Linked DNA regions of Homo sapiens: region 1 is linked to region 2. Evidence: promoter capture Hi-C in 16 types of primary human blood cells and fetal thymus (Javierre and others, 2016). All regions are on one chromosome and are shown on one strand. The core of a region is centred on a gene start or on the middle of the fragment in contact, and the rest is flanking DNA. Distances in the headings are between cores, read along the strand shown.

The links. Contacts are between HindIII fragments. The CHiCAGO score rates a contact against its expected background, and 5 or more counts as called.
Region 1: a contact is called between a fragment that was not itself captured here and the fragment with the promoter of NUBPL in region 2, in 1 of 17 cell types (activated CD4 T cells). The highest score is 5.4, in activated CD4 T cells.

The regions. Positions count from the first base shown.
Region 1 is chr14:30,548,109-30,554,762 of GRCh38, forward strand. All of the region lies in intron 3 of G2E3-AS1 (G2E3 antisense RNA 1), which reads right to left. Among named protein-coding and RNA genes, the nearest start is that of G2E3, 7.7 kb to the right of the region's middle. The HindIII fragment of the contact is 2,270 bases long and covers 2,123-4,392 here.
Region 2 is chr14:31,556,171-31,562,653 of GRCh38, forward strand. It overlaps NUBPL (NUBP iron-sulfur cluster assembly factor, mitochondrial), which reads left to right and starts at 5,234. Exons shown (of 11, transcript NM_025152.3): 1 at 5,234-5,377; 2 at 5,898-6,045. The coding sequence starts at 5,270. It overlaps NUBPL-DT (NUBPL divergent transcript), which reads right to left and starts at 5,161. Exons shown (of 3, transcript XR_943720.2): 1 at 4,941-5,161. LOC105370438 (a long non-coding RNA gene) reads left to right here. Exons shown (of 4, transcript XR_943723.3): 4 at 1,655-1,926. RefSeq lists enhancers at 5,077-5,476, 5,403-5,958. The HindIII fragment of the contact is 6,263 bases long and covers 4,447-6,483 here.

The DNA of each region.
Region 1 (6,654 bases), core at 2,008-4,507, 1.0 Mb before region 2:
AGCTTTCAAAATTCTCTTTGTGTTTGTCTTCCAATATTTTGATGATAATATCTTGGTGTGGGTCTCTGAGTTCATCACACATTGAGCTTGTTGAGCTTCTTGGATGTTTATATTCATATCGTCCATCAAATTTGGGAAGTTTTTAGCCACTACTTTTTCAGATATTCTCTCTTTTTCTTTCTCTTCTTTTTCTAGGAATACCATAATGCCTGTGTTGTTTAGCTTTATGGTGTCACATAGGTCTCTTGGGCTCAGTTCCGTTTTCTTCAATCTTTTTCTTTCTGTTTCTCAAACTCAGTAATTTTCATTGTTCTATTTTCAAGTTCACTGATTCTTTCTCCTGCCTGCCCAAATCTGCCTTTGAATACTTCTAGTGATTTTTTTCATTTCAGTTACTATAATTTTCAGCTCCACGATTTTTTTCTTTTTAGGCTTTTTATTTCTTTAATGATTTTTCCATTTTGTTCAGACATCATTTTGTTGACTGTCATTTCTTCCTTTAGTTCTTTGAGCATCTTTAAGACAGTTGTTTTAAAGTCTTTGTCTGTCTAGTAGATCTGCCATCCAGTCTTTTTCAAAGATAGTTTATTGTTTTTTTCCTTTTGAAAAGACCATACTTTCCTGTTTCTTTGTATGCTTTGTGATTTTTTTGTTGTTGTTGAAAACTGTATATTTGCATCTAATAATGTCGTACCTTTGGAAATCAGGTTCTCTCCCTTCCCTAGGTTTTGCTGGTGTTTTGGGTTTTATTATTATTTTTGTTGCTGTTATTGTTATAGGTTGTGTCTGTGCTGAGGATCAGCCTGAGGTTTAAACTTAAGGCCTTCTCTGGTCTTTGCTGAGCCTGCACCTTCACCTGGGCGTGTGTGGTGACTTTCTAGTTTTCCTTACATATGCAGTTGCTTTTGAATGTCCTAGTCTTCAATGTCTTACTTCCATAAGGGGAGACAGAGAAAAATAACAGGAGAGAAAAGGCTCTGCCTCTTTAAATCTCCTGGATATTACTTTAGCCAGAGGAGTGGGAGGGTTTGCAACAATGGGGGTTAGTGCAACCGTAATGACCACCACCTCTTTTTCTATACCTCTGTGATCAGATGCAGCAATCAATGATCACAGCACAGATCCCCAATATTTTTAGGACATGGTCCTTTTTGCCTGTTCTGGTTCCTGCAAGCTGTGTGCAAGCTGCTCCAGAAACATATTCACAGCTGCCCACTATTGGGCTGAAGGGTGGGACTGTTATTTAAAATAACGTTATGAAACTACATGCTAACATAAATATTTGTGTTTTCTAAAACAAAAATAATTTAGTGAGAAGAATGGCATTGTTTTACCTTTATATAAATCTCTCTGGTGGATAATTTAATATAAAATCACTGGATTGGCTGGGCACAGTGGCTCATGCCTGTAATCCCAGCACTTTGAGAGGTCAAGGCAGGCAGATCACAAGGTCAGGAGATCGAGACCATCCTGGCTAACACGGTGAAACCCTGTCTCTACTAAAAATACAAAAAAATTAGCGGGGTGTGGTGGTGGGTGCCTGTAGTCCCAACTACCAGGGAGGCTGAGGCAGGAGAATCACTGAAACCCGGGAGGCGGAGGTTGCAGTGAGCTCAGATCACGCTGCCGCACTCCAGCCTGGGTGGCAGAGTGAGACTCCATTTCAAAAAAAAAAGAAGAAAAGAAAAAGAAAATCACTGGATTTTCATATCAGTTTCTGCATTCAGTCTGTTGCAATATCACACCCCATGCAGCCTCTGGAAAACTCTATTGTACACTTGTGAGAGAATATAAGTGAAAAGGCAAACGGTCTTAGTATTATTTTGAAGATAGTTTGACCTCATGAACCACATTTTGAAAATTGTTGATCTAATTCATCCTTCAGTCTAGTACTAAAAAGTCGTCTCTGTACTAATATTAACAAAGCTTCTACCTAATACTAGATGATATCTGAGGTTCTTTATTAAACTAACGTCCTACAGTTCTATAGATGAACAAGCAAATTTCTCACAAAAAAAAACTTTGCTATTAGCTAATTGTTTTAGATTAATATTAGGTTTCTTATCACTGCTCCTATCTCTGCTGGGTGTGTGAATTGAAATATTGTAATGGAAAATGAACAAGCTTTGTGTCCAACCAAACAAGCTATAGTTAAAATACCAGTTCTGCCTACTGTGGCCTTGGACAAATTATTTAATCTTATTAAGCCCTAGTTTCATCACCTACTTTGTCAAGATTAAGTAAATCAACATTTAGTTTTAGCACAGTGTTTTGAATGTAGAAAGCATTAAACAAATGTTAGTTCCTTTTATGTTTTTCCAATCATATACCTTTTATTAGTTAACCTCACCTACAGGAAGACTCATTGCCCCATTATGACCACTGTGGGAAGGCTAAAGTTTAATATCTATTACTGTACAATACCTAAGAAGTGAGTCAACTTGGAGATACTAGACTTGCAAACCCAAACAATTTAAAAAATTGTACAGGGGTTAAATAGCAAACATTACATCAAACTGCCCTGAAATTCTCACTATTTCAGCTACAAATATGACCTATTAGAGCTAGTTTATTAGCTCTTTCTATAAACATGGATTAACTCAAATCACTACCAAGGTGGAAAGTAGACAGCAGGTCACTAAGGAATGTATCATATGTTCTGAAGGGCAGAGAAAAGGAATATGAGGCTAAGATCCACCTGGGAGGAGAGTTCCTTTGTGCCTTTCAGTGGCTCACAAGCCTAAGGATACTGGGCATGGAATGCCAGATGCCATTGAAAGGAGAAGGAAGGGGATGTTAACTGTATGTCTTACCCATTTGCCTAATTATAATTACCATTAAATGTCCTCTCACTTAGAGCTCACAAGAAACCTGTCAGGTAGTTATTATTTACATCTGATTAATGTGTAGTGAAGCTCAAAGGATTGGGTACTTCATACTTAGCTAGTAAGTAAAACGGCTAGTATTTAAACCTCAGCCTGTTTTGCTTTCAGGTTCGCCTCTTAACATTGCACTACTTACTATCCTTGAAAAATGTTTCCTAAAGAATGGCCCTAAGTGTTGAAGCTAAACTTTGAGCAAGTGCCTGCTTCCTAAGTGATGATTCTGTGCCCTAGACCTTTGTGAGAATTTGAAGTTTTCTTTCACCCCCAACAAAACACTCAGGTAAGGATTGGGCTTATTATAACTGAGTCACTTTATCAATTCAGTTGCGGAGTCATTTTCCGCAAGTATTCTGGGAGGGATTAAAAAATCAAAGTACACAAACTGAAAACAGTTTTGATTGCCAGCAATTGTATCCAAGAATGTTAAAGATTCAGTTCAAGCATGTTGTTCATTACTTGATTTATTCTGGGTGGCATTACCAATGTGTGTTCCTGCATTTGGAGTTACTCTTAACTGTAAAGAGGCTCTGATTTCTATGTAAACACTTCAGGCCAAAAGACAGCAATTTTAAAAAGCAATCCAGACAATCATTTGTTTGAAACACCAACTTAGAGAGGAGTAATGTTAACATAAACATACCACATCTTTGACCTATATTAAAACACATGTCTCATATTGGCTACAAGCAAACTTTGAGTCCTTTGTAAAATCCATACAGTTACCCAGCAGGCATGATGTCAATCCAAATCACTGTGGTTACTGTATAGCTACTTATTATCCAAACAACCCTGAAACAAAAGACCTGAAATTCGCTGTTTTGGATGCTGCTTCCTGCTGCCAGGAGGAGGTGTGTTTAACTTACAAGAGACTGAACAGCAGTTAGATGAACACTTTAGATCAAAAGATCCAAGTAAATAGACAATGAAGAAAAGACTTCTGTTTGATAGCAGACAACATACTTTCCCAAAAATGTATCTTAATTCAAGTTCAAAAATTGATATAAAAAGACTGGTCACGCAAATGAATGTAAGAAACATATTAGTAAACACATGAATGAAACTGTGCTCCAAAGAGTTAAAGAAACCAATAACTAACAGACATTCTTGAATTTGAAGGTTAGTCAATAATAAAAGGAAACAACTTGCCGAAAAGCTGAAACTCCCTCTACTTGAGGGATTTTAAAAAACTGGATGAAACAATGAACTGAACTGTTGGAAACAATGTGGCCAACTGGAGTTTGCGCAGAGCAAATTTGTTGATGTCACAGCCTGAATTTCTACCACATTTCATATTAAGTCCCCCTAAATTTGCACCTGTGACCCATGAGGAGGCACAAAGGGATAACTGGGCGTGCCTGAGGACTTTCCAGACCTCCCCTTTTCTTCCACCAATCACCTACTAGTCTCAGAATCACCCCCTAAACCTTTTCTAATAAAAGTAAAGCCAACACAGAGAGACGGCTTTGAGCTGGACTCCTGTCTTCTTGTGAGTTGACATATAACAAAAAGCTTTTCTTTTCCCAACAGCCCAGAGTCATTGTATATTGGCTTTTAGTGCATCAGGCATCAAGCCCTTTCTGCTTGAGAAAATGAATACAACTCCATTCAGAAACATATTAGCACTGCTGACAGCATAGCAGAAGCTTGGCAAATTATTATTAATCATGGAGTCATACACTAATAATGGTCATGTACTTATTTCGTATGATATTATCATTATGTCTTCAACACAAGAGATGATCAACAATATGGGCTATGGCTGGGGGCAGTGGTTCACACCCGTAATCTCAGCACTTTTGAAGGCTGAGGCAGGAGGATCACTTGAACCCAGGAGTTCAAGACCAGCCTGGGCAAAATAGCGAGATTCCCCCATCTCTACAAAAATTAAAAAAAAAAAAAATTAGCTGGGCATAGCAGTGCGTGCCTGTGGCCCCAGCTACTTGAAAAGCTGAAATGAGAGGATCACTTGAGCCCAGGTGGTTGAGACTGCAGTGAGCCATGATCATATCCCTGCACTTGCAACCTGAGTGACAGAACATGATCCTGTCTCAACAATTAATAGTAATAATAATGATAATATAGGCTAATTTATTTTGGAATCATGGGATGAAAATTTTGTAGCATTAATGCCATAATTAGAAATACTAAGTATATTCCAAAGTATTCAAATATTGCTGAGAATCATAGAGGAAGCCTAAGTAACAGATAAGGACAGTGAGCACAGAGAGGGGAAGAAGAAAAAAAGACCATTAAAGGAGGAAGTAAAAAACAAACCTGAGGTAAATACGGGAGCAGTAACAAGATCATGAGTACAGTAGGAATGATTAAGATATAAAGTCACCTGGAGAGAAGAGAATTACCTCTATTTCATGCTTTTACATTCTTGTTAGAGGTTAGTGAAGTAGAAGTTTGGGAATAGAGTCCTACAGTGGCCTGTATTCTGAGTAGCTGATTGTGACATATTTTATGTGAGCCACATAAAATGCAGGTGTGAGCCACTGCACCCGGCCTCAAAGTACACTTCTTATAGTATGACTCTATTAGGGCTCTGAGTCACAGAAAACTTAATTAAAAACTTTCATTCTAAGATCTCAGGGATGGTCTCTAATCAAGGCAACAGATAAGTGAGGGGTTATCAGATACCAGGCAGAATATTAATCGGTATTGCTGAGGAGACAGGCTAGAGAGAAAGCTAGAAATTTATCCTCAAGGTGGAAGATAAAAGAAAAGTGAACAGACATTCAGGGATGGATCTGCCTTAAGTATGAGTCAAGTATTTGCTTCAAATGTGGGTAGTGGCTGAGGGTAAAACAAAAATCTGATTCATCTGAAAGGCAGGAAGGGTTACCAGAAGTTCAATATGGCTAACACAGAGGAGGAATGAGTTCCTGTAAAGGACAATTTAGTCCAAAAGTGTATACTAATTCTAGTGGGCGCTAATTTAAGAATGAGTGCCAGGTTTATCAGCTTTACAGTATAAGATAGCATTGTTATTTCTCTAATTAAAGAATACCATACCTTCTTATTTGCATGTCTTTGGGGGTTCAATAGCCCTAACTCTGGAGGCAATGGTTTAGGGGGCAAAGCAACACAACTTTGGATGGCCTCCTAACAGGATGGATGTACCCTAACTCATTCAATTATCTTCCTCTTTATAGTTGTTTCCAGTTAGCAGCCACTGTAAGTAGTGCTTCAAAAAGCACTAGCATGCTTATTTCTATAGGAGAATCCCAAAGTTGAGAAAAGCCTGAGTTACTTTCCAAGAGCTGTAGCAATGTATGCTCCTGTGGATAAGAGTGTACATTTGGCCGGGCGCAGTGGCTCACGCCTGTAATCCTAGCACTTTGGGAGGCCGAGGCGGGCAGATTACGAGGTCAGGAGTTCAAGACCAGCCTGACCAACATGGGGAAACCTCCATCTCTACTAGAAAAATACAAAAATTAGCCTGGCATGGTGGCACATGCCTGTAATCCCAGCTACTCAGGAGGCTGAGGCAGGAGAATTGCTTAAATCTGGGAGGTGGAGGTTGCAGTGATACGCCACTGCACTCCAGCTATATGGAAGATATAAAGTTAGGCCTGTACCTTTTATCATATACCAAATGCAAGCTCCAAGATCGCGCCACTGCACTCCAGCCTGGGTGACAGAGCAAGACTCTGTCTCAAAAAAAAAAAAAAAAAAAGAGTGTACATTTTACCACCACACTCTCCCAGTGTGGGATATTGTGAATTGTTTTAATTTTTGCTAATCCAATAAACTTGGTATTTGG
Region 2 (6,483 bases), core at 3,984-6,483:
CAAGTCCCATAGATGGGATAAGGTTTTCTTTTTGGTGAGCCTTTGGACAGGATGAGAAGGTCAGTTGTGGACAGTAACCTCAAACTAAAGGAACTGAAATAAGTTTCTGAGCTTTATTCAGTATATTCAACAGAGACAAACTGTCCAAGATACCCTATTCTTCCTTAGTGAGTTGAGCAAGGGAGTGGATCACACGTTCTCAGCTGACATTGACACAGCCTGAGGCCTATGGAAAGGGAATGAGGTAGTCTTCTTATCTGTGAGGGAATCTGAAACTTCAGTGAGTCCTTAGTCACCTAAGAAGGGTTGTCTTTTGGGAGGAACGAGGGCAACCTTACAGGTATAAATCCTTCCTTTTTAGAAAACAATACAAGGTATTACTCTACACATAATTAGGAGATATTCAAAAGAATCTTCTTTATTTTGATCAGTATTTATTTATTTATTTATAAATTTCTGTCAGGGTGGGGGAAAATCTTGTTCAATACAGATTCCACCAGGATTGTAGCTAAGTCACAGACAGCCTATGCAGTGTCCAGATATCCACATGCTGAGGTGAACTTCATCTTCAAGGTATTTATCTATGCATACCAGCATCCATGGAGATGCTAATAACTAACCATGCAGATTGTTGCCAAATGTTCCCTAATTCTTGACCTTAAGGACTCTTTAGGATCAGCATTCTCTTAGCCACTTTGTGGCTCACTCAGATCTATCTATCTGCCTAAACATAACACTCAACCATTCTTATTCTGTGGTTCTGCCACTGCACTGAGCTCCACCTGGTAATGGGGACATTGATTCTGTTGTTTTCACATCCCCCAAGCTGATTTGGGGTTCTGTTGTCCCCCCTCCCCACTAGAGATTAATCTTGGGTGAACAGGAGAGAGGTAGTCTCAGAGTATGGGAGTCCTTCTTATTCGCTGTAACAGGCACAGATTATTGTAGCTCAAATAACAGAAATCCTAGCCAACAGTGGCTTAAATATCTCACATAACCAGAGGTCTGGAAATGCAGACCAGGACTGGTATAGCAGCTTAGTTATACTGCCAAGAATTCATCTTCTTGCCATATTTCCTCTTTGTCTTCCTCAGCTTTTGGCTTCTATTATTGTGGTTGTCATTATTGTGCTTTTCATGTTCACAAGATGACTGCCACATCTCCATGTCACATCCATGGTCAAGGTGGGAAAAAGGAGTTAGCACCAACTACGTTCCACTCAATCAGAAAAGCAAAAGCTTTCTCAGAAACTTCCCAGAAAAATTTCCCTTTACCACATTGGGTTAGCCAATTACAAATGACTGGTACAAGAACCCATGGATATTTAAGTTCTCAGTTTTCTTCAGATTCTCTTCATCCCTCATAATCCCAGGAAACTTGTTATAGTCTGTCTAGGACAGATACTAACTTGGCTCATTGACTACCCACTTCCAGTCACATTCTCCATTGCTTTCCTCTACTCTACAGGTTAGAGAGCTCTAAATGCTTAATTTCTCAGTTTCTCTTGGTTCTAAGGATGGTCATGTGACCCGGTTCTAGCCAGTCGGGTGTGTGTGTGTGTGTGTGTGTGTGTCTTCCTTTCCTGAATAAAAAAGGCAAAGGCTCACTAGGAAATTCTCTTTGTCATTCCCTCCTCTTCCTATATGGAACATAGCTTTGATGCCTGAAGGTACAACAAACATCTCATGACTATGAGGGGATGAAAATGGATACCAAGGATACCAAGATGATGGAACAAAAAGAATTGATTTGGAACATGACGGCACTATGGATTCATCGTATTGGACCTCTGTGATATAATTCTGAACTTTTCATATAAGACTAATATACCCCTACTTGTTTAATACAACTGTAGAGTTATCTGCTACTTGCAGCCAAATGTAATCCTAACTAATATAGGCAATAAATCATGTTTTTATATCACTATGTAGGTCTTCCAATCTATTGTCTTTGCCAGAGCTGTCTCCATTCTTCTAAAAGGTCCCAACTTCCAAAATTCAAAACCAAGAAAACAACCTCTTTTCTCTGACATTTTTATTGGGTCAGACATTTTGCTGTGTCAGAAAATGATTCCATATAATTTGTCCAAATGGGGAAGGGCTATGCGAGATACAAGGAATTATAGGGAGAAAATTATTGACACATATTTAAAAATATATCTCAGCATAGTTACAAATACACAGAAACCCATCCAAATTAGACTAAGACAGTAAATTTATTGGGTGGATGTAAGTATATCTTATGGACCTAAGGATAGGAAGTCCGGTTGAACCTCATTATGAACTGGAACCAGGAACTGAAAAGTTATGAACCAGTGCAGCTCTTCTCCCTTTCCTCTATGGTAACATGATCTCTTATGATCTACTTTCTTCTTCTCTCTTGCATTGGCTTTATCTGCTTCTGCATGCACATAGTAGAAAATAGTAATTTCAACTGTATTAGCTCAAAGACAAACTAAGATTGACTAACACCTGTTACTTTTATTTTCCAGGCTCTCTGGAGAATTAATCTGATTGGTCAATTTTTTGGTTGTACATCAGTCTTTAGTCCAATTAGTGACCTTGGGAATGGGGTCAAATGACTTAGCAATTCTTAGGACCAAAGGAGAATACCCTTTTGAAAAGAGGCCATGGATATGTATATGTGTGTCAGTGTTTTTTGGAGAAGAAACATCTCTACTACTCTCCTAAAATTTTAATTTGGGGAAAGGTAAACCAAAGTAATGATTCAGCCATTCTACAAACATTATTCTCACTTGCTCCTCCTCTTATGTTTTCTCTCAGGGAATTCATCTAGTTGCTCATGTCATAAACCTCTACACAACCAATGATTACCACAATAGCTAACAATTACTAACTCTGTGACAGCTGTTCTACATGCATTATCTTAAGTTCAACCTCACAACAACCATAGAAGTAGGAATTAACTATTTTATTGATAACAAAGTGAAATTTAGAGATGTTAAGTCAAGCCTTCAAGAGAGAGACCTCATGTCTCCTTGTCTCTGATCTTGCCCCGCTGATCCATTTCTTTTTTAACCCAGTAATCATAGTGGTATTTCTAAAACACAAATCTGATGTTACTTTCCTGCTTAAAATCCTTCTATAGTTCCCTTAGGATAAAGTCCAAATTTCTTTACAAGATATATACAGCCTTTCTTGATTTAGGCAACCTCCATCTAACCAACCTTCACTCCATCCTCATCTCTTTTAGTCACTTTGTCCTAAGTTGCACAGATCATTTACAGTTCTTAACAATCCAGAAAAGAAATGTATTTTCTACTCCTCTTGTGTTCTCTCTTCTTTTCTCTCTTCTTTCTTTTTTTATTTTTATTTTTGATATCTTTTTTATTTTTTTATTTTTATTTTTTAGTATTTATTGATCATTCTTGGGTATTTCTCGGAGCGGGGGATTTGGCAGGGTCATAGGACAATAGTGGAGGGAAGGTCAGCAGATAAACATGTGAACAAGGGTCTCTGGTTTTCCTAGGCAGAGGACCCTGCGGCCTTCCGCAGTGTTTGTGTCCCTGGGTACTTGAGATTAGGGAGTGGTGATGACTCTTAACGAGCATGCTGCCTTCAAGCATCTGTTTAACAAAGCACATCTTGCACCGCCCTTAATCCATTTAACCCTGAGTGGACACAGCACATGTTTCAGAGAGCACGGGGTTGGGGGTAAGGTTATAGATTAACAGCATCCCAAGGCAGAATAATTTTTCTTAGTACAGAACAAAATGGAGTCTCCTATGTCTACTTCTTTCTACACAGACACAGTAACAATCTGATCTCTCTTTCCTTTCCCCACATTTCCCCCTTTTCTATTCGACAAAACCGCCATCGTCATCATGGCCCGTTCTCAATGAGCTGTTGGGTACACCTCCTAGACAGGGTGGCGGCTGGGCAGAGGGGCCCCTCACTTCCCAGACGGGGTGGCCGGGCAGAGGTGACTCCACCTCCCGGACGGGGTGGCGGCCGGGCGGGGTCTGCCCCCCACCTCCCTCCGGGACGGGGCGGCTGACCGGATGGGGGCTGCCCCCCACGTCCCTCCCGGACGGGGCAGCTGGCCGGGCGGGGGCTTTTCTCTCTTCTTTCATCTTTCTTCCTTCTACTCTCTTCTTCTTTCTTCTTCCTTCTTCTTTCTTCTCCTTTTAATTTCCTCTTCCTCCTTCCTCCTTCCTTCTTTCTTCTTCTTCTGACAAGGTGTCACTCTGCTGCCCACGCTGGAGTGCAGTGGTGCAATCATAGCTCACTGCATCCTTGAACTCCTGGCTCAAGCAATCCTCTTGCTTTGGCCTCCCAAAGTGTTGGAATTACACGCGTGAGCCACCATGCCTAGCCTTAGCAGTCCATTTCTAACCTCTTTACAACAATCTCCTTGCCATTCTCCCAGCTAACTTCTACACATTATTCAGATTCAGCATTCAGCTTAGATATTACCTAATTTAGAAGCTTCCCCTGATTGAATTGAGTGCCCTTTCTTTGTATCACTTTGTCCTTTCTCCTGTATCCCTCAATGCTTTTCTCCTGTACTTATCATATTATACCGCAATTTTGTTGTTAACTTATTCTGTCTTTTGCACTGGATTATAAAGCCCTTTAGTGGAGGAATTATGTCGGTCTCAATGCTGAATATTTTAAGTCTACTGTAGTACTCGGTACATAGTAGTTGCTCAACGAATATTTGTTAAATAAATGAGTCTTAAGTCTGGAAGAACTTGCAAAGTTCTTTACCAGGTTGCTGGTAAAGCAACCTGACCTTTCTTTCAGGGAACTGTCAGCAACACAAGCCATGAATACCAACGCAAAACAGACTCTCACTGTAGATCACACGGGAAAAAATAAAATAAAAAGGTAAAATCCTTAACGGTGGTAGTATTTAAATGACCATATACTGCTTAGTAAGAAATCCTGGGGTCATTTTCAAGGTCCCCCATTTCCTACTTTTGTTAAGCTGGGTCAAGTCTCTTTAAACTTTCTCCGTTTTCTTGTCCATAAAAAGAGTATACTAGGTAAGTCTTCTGTCTACCTCGGGACTTCTGTAAGTATCATAAGAGATGTTTTATATGACAACACTTCACAAACGTTTAGTAAAACGCTGCAAAATGTTTGTAGCTGGCTATAAACAAGATCATGCAGATTGGGTTCCTGAGCCAACAAACCCAAAGAAGACCGGTTGCTAGGAAGAGAAAGCCGAGCGTTGCTCCGTGACGTCATCACTCCGCGCCACCCGCGACAGTTTCCCAGCAGGGCTCACAGCAGCGTTCCGCGTCATGGGGATTTGGCAGCGTCTGCTGCTTTTTGGTGGGGTGTCGCTCCGGGCTGGTGGCGGGGCCACTGCCCCGCTTGGGGGAAGCCGAGCGATGGTTTGTGGGCGCCAGGTCCGTGGTGCTGCAGGGCAGGGGGAAGCGGGCTGACAGATGCTGGGCTGCAGGGCCGCAGATGCCCTGGCATTGCTTCTTGCCAAAGACTCGCCTCAGTTCCTGAGACCCCCAGTGTGCTGGACGTGCCTACTTTTCAGGCAGGCCCAGGCTGAGGCGTGGCGGGACTTGAAACACAGTTAGAACGTAGATGTGGTATTCTACATTGCTTTCTTGGCTTTGGGTTATTTATCAAATAGATTGAAGAAAAGCAAAACACGTGGAAGCCTTATCTCCGTAAAGAGGCAGCGTTTTTACATTTTTAAACGTTCAGCGTATCCTGCTAGAAAAATTTCAATTTAAGCAATGTGTCTTTACAATTGTTATCAGTAGTAGTAGGTAAATGTCTCCATAGTGAAGATGAGCAGAATTAGAAAAGAAAGCCCTCTTAATTGCAAACCCCAGATTGTTTTTGCTTTTACAGTGTGATGATGGAGATGGCTTATTTAAAACGGCTTTTTATTATTATTATTTTTTAAAGTTGTCTGGCGCCGGGAGTGAGACCCTAAAACAAAGAAGAACACAAATCATGTCCCGAGGACTTCCAAAGCAGAAACCGATAGAAGGTGTTAAACAAGTTATAGTTGTGGCTTCTGGAAAGGGTGGAGTCGGAAAATCTACTACAGCAGGTATTATAGGATATTAATTCTATTCCTGATTAAGAACTTATGCCAACAGACAAGTGCACACTATTGAAATTATAGTTTTGTGTTTTAAAAATTTATTTGTGAAGTTCCTAACATGTGATTCCTTAGTTTCAGGAGTTGGTAGCGGGTAGACGCTTAGATTTTGGAGTTAGACAAAAGTAGGTACTAGCCGGGTCTCCCACCCCTTAACTCAGGAAAAAGTGGTCAGATTGTACAGCAAATCTTCAGTTCACTTAACTGTAAAATGGAGATAACTTCTTTCATAAGATGGTTATTCAAATTGCACAAGCTAACCACTTAGCTTAGTGTTTACTAGTGTTCAATAATTGGTTGCTGTTATTTTTAAAACATCTAGTAACTTTTTTTTTTTGTTTTTTTTTTTTTTTTTGAGACGGAATCTCGCTCTGTCACCCAGGCTGT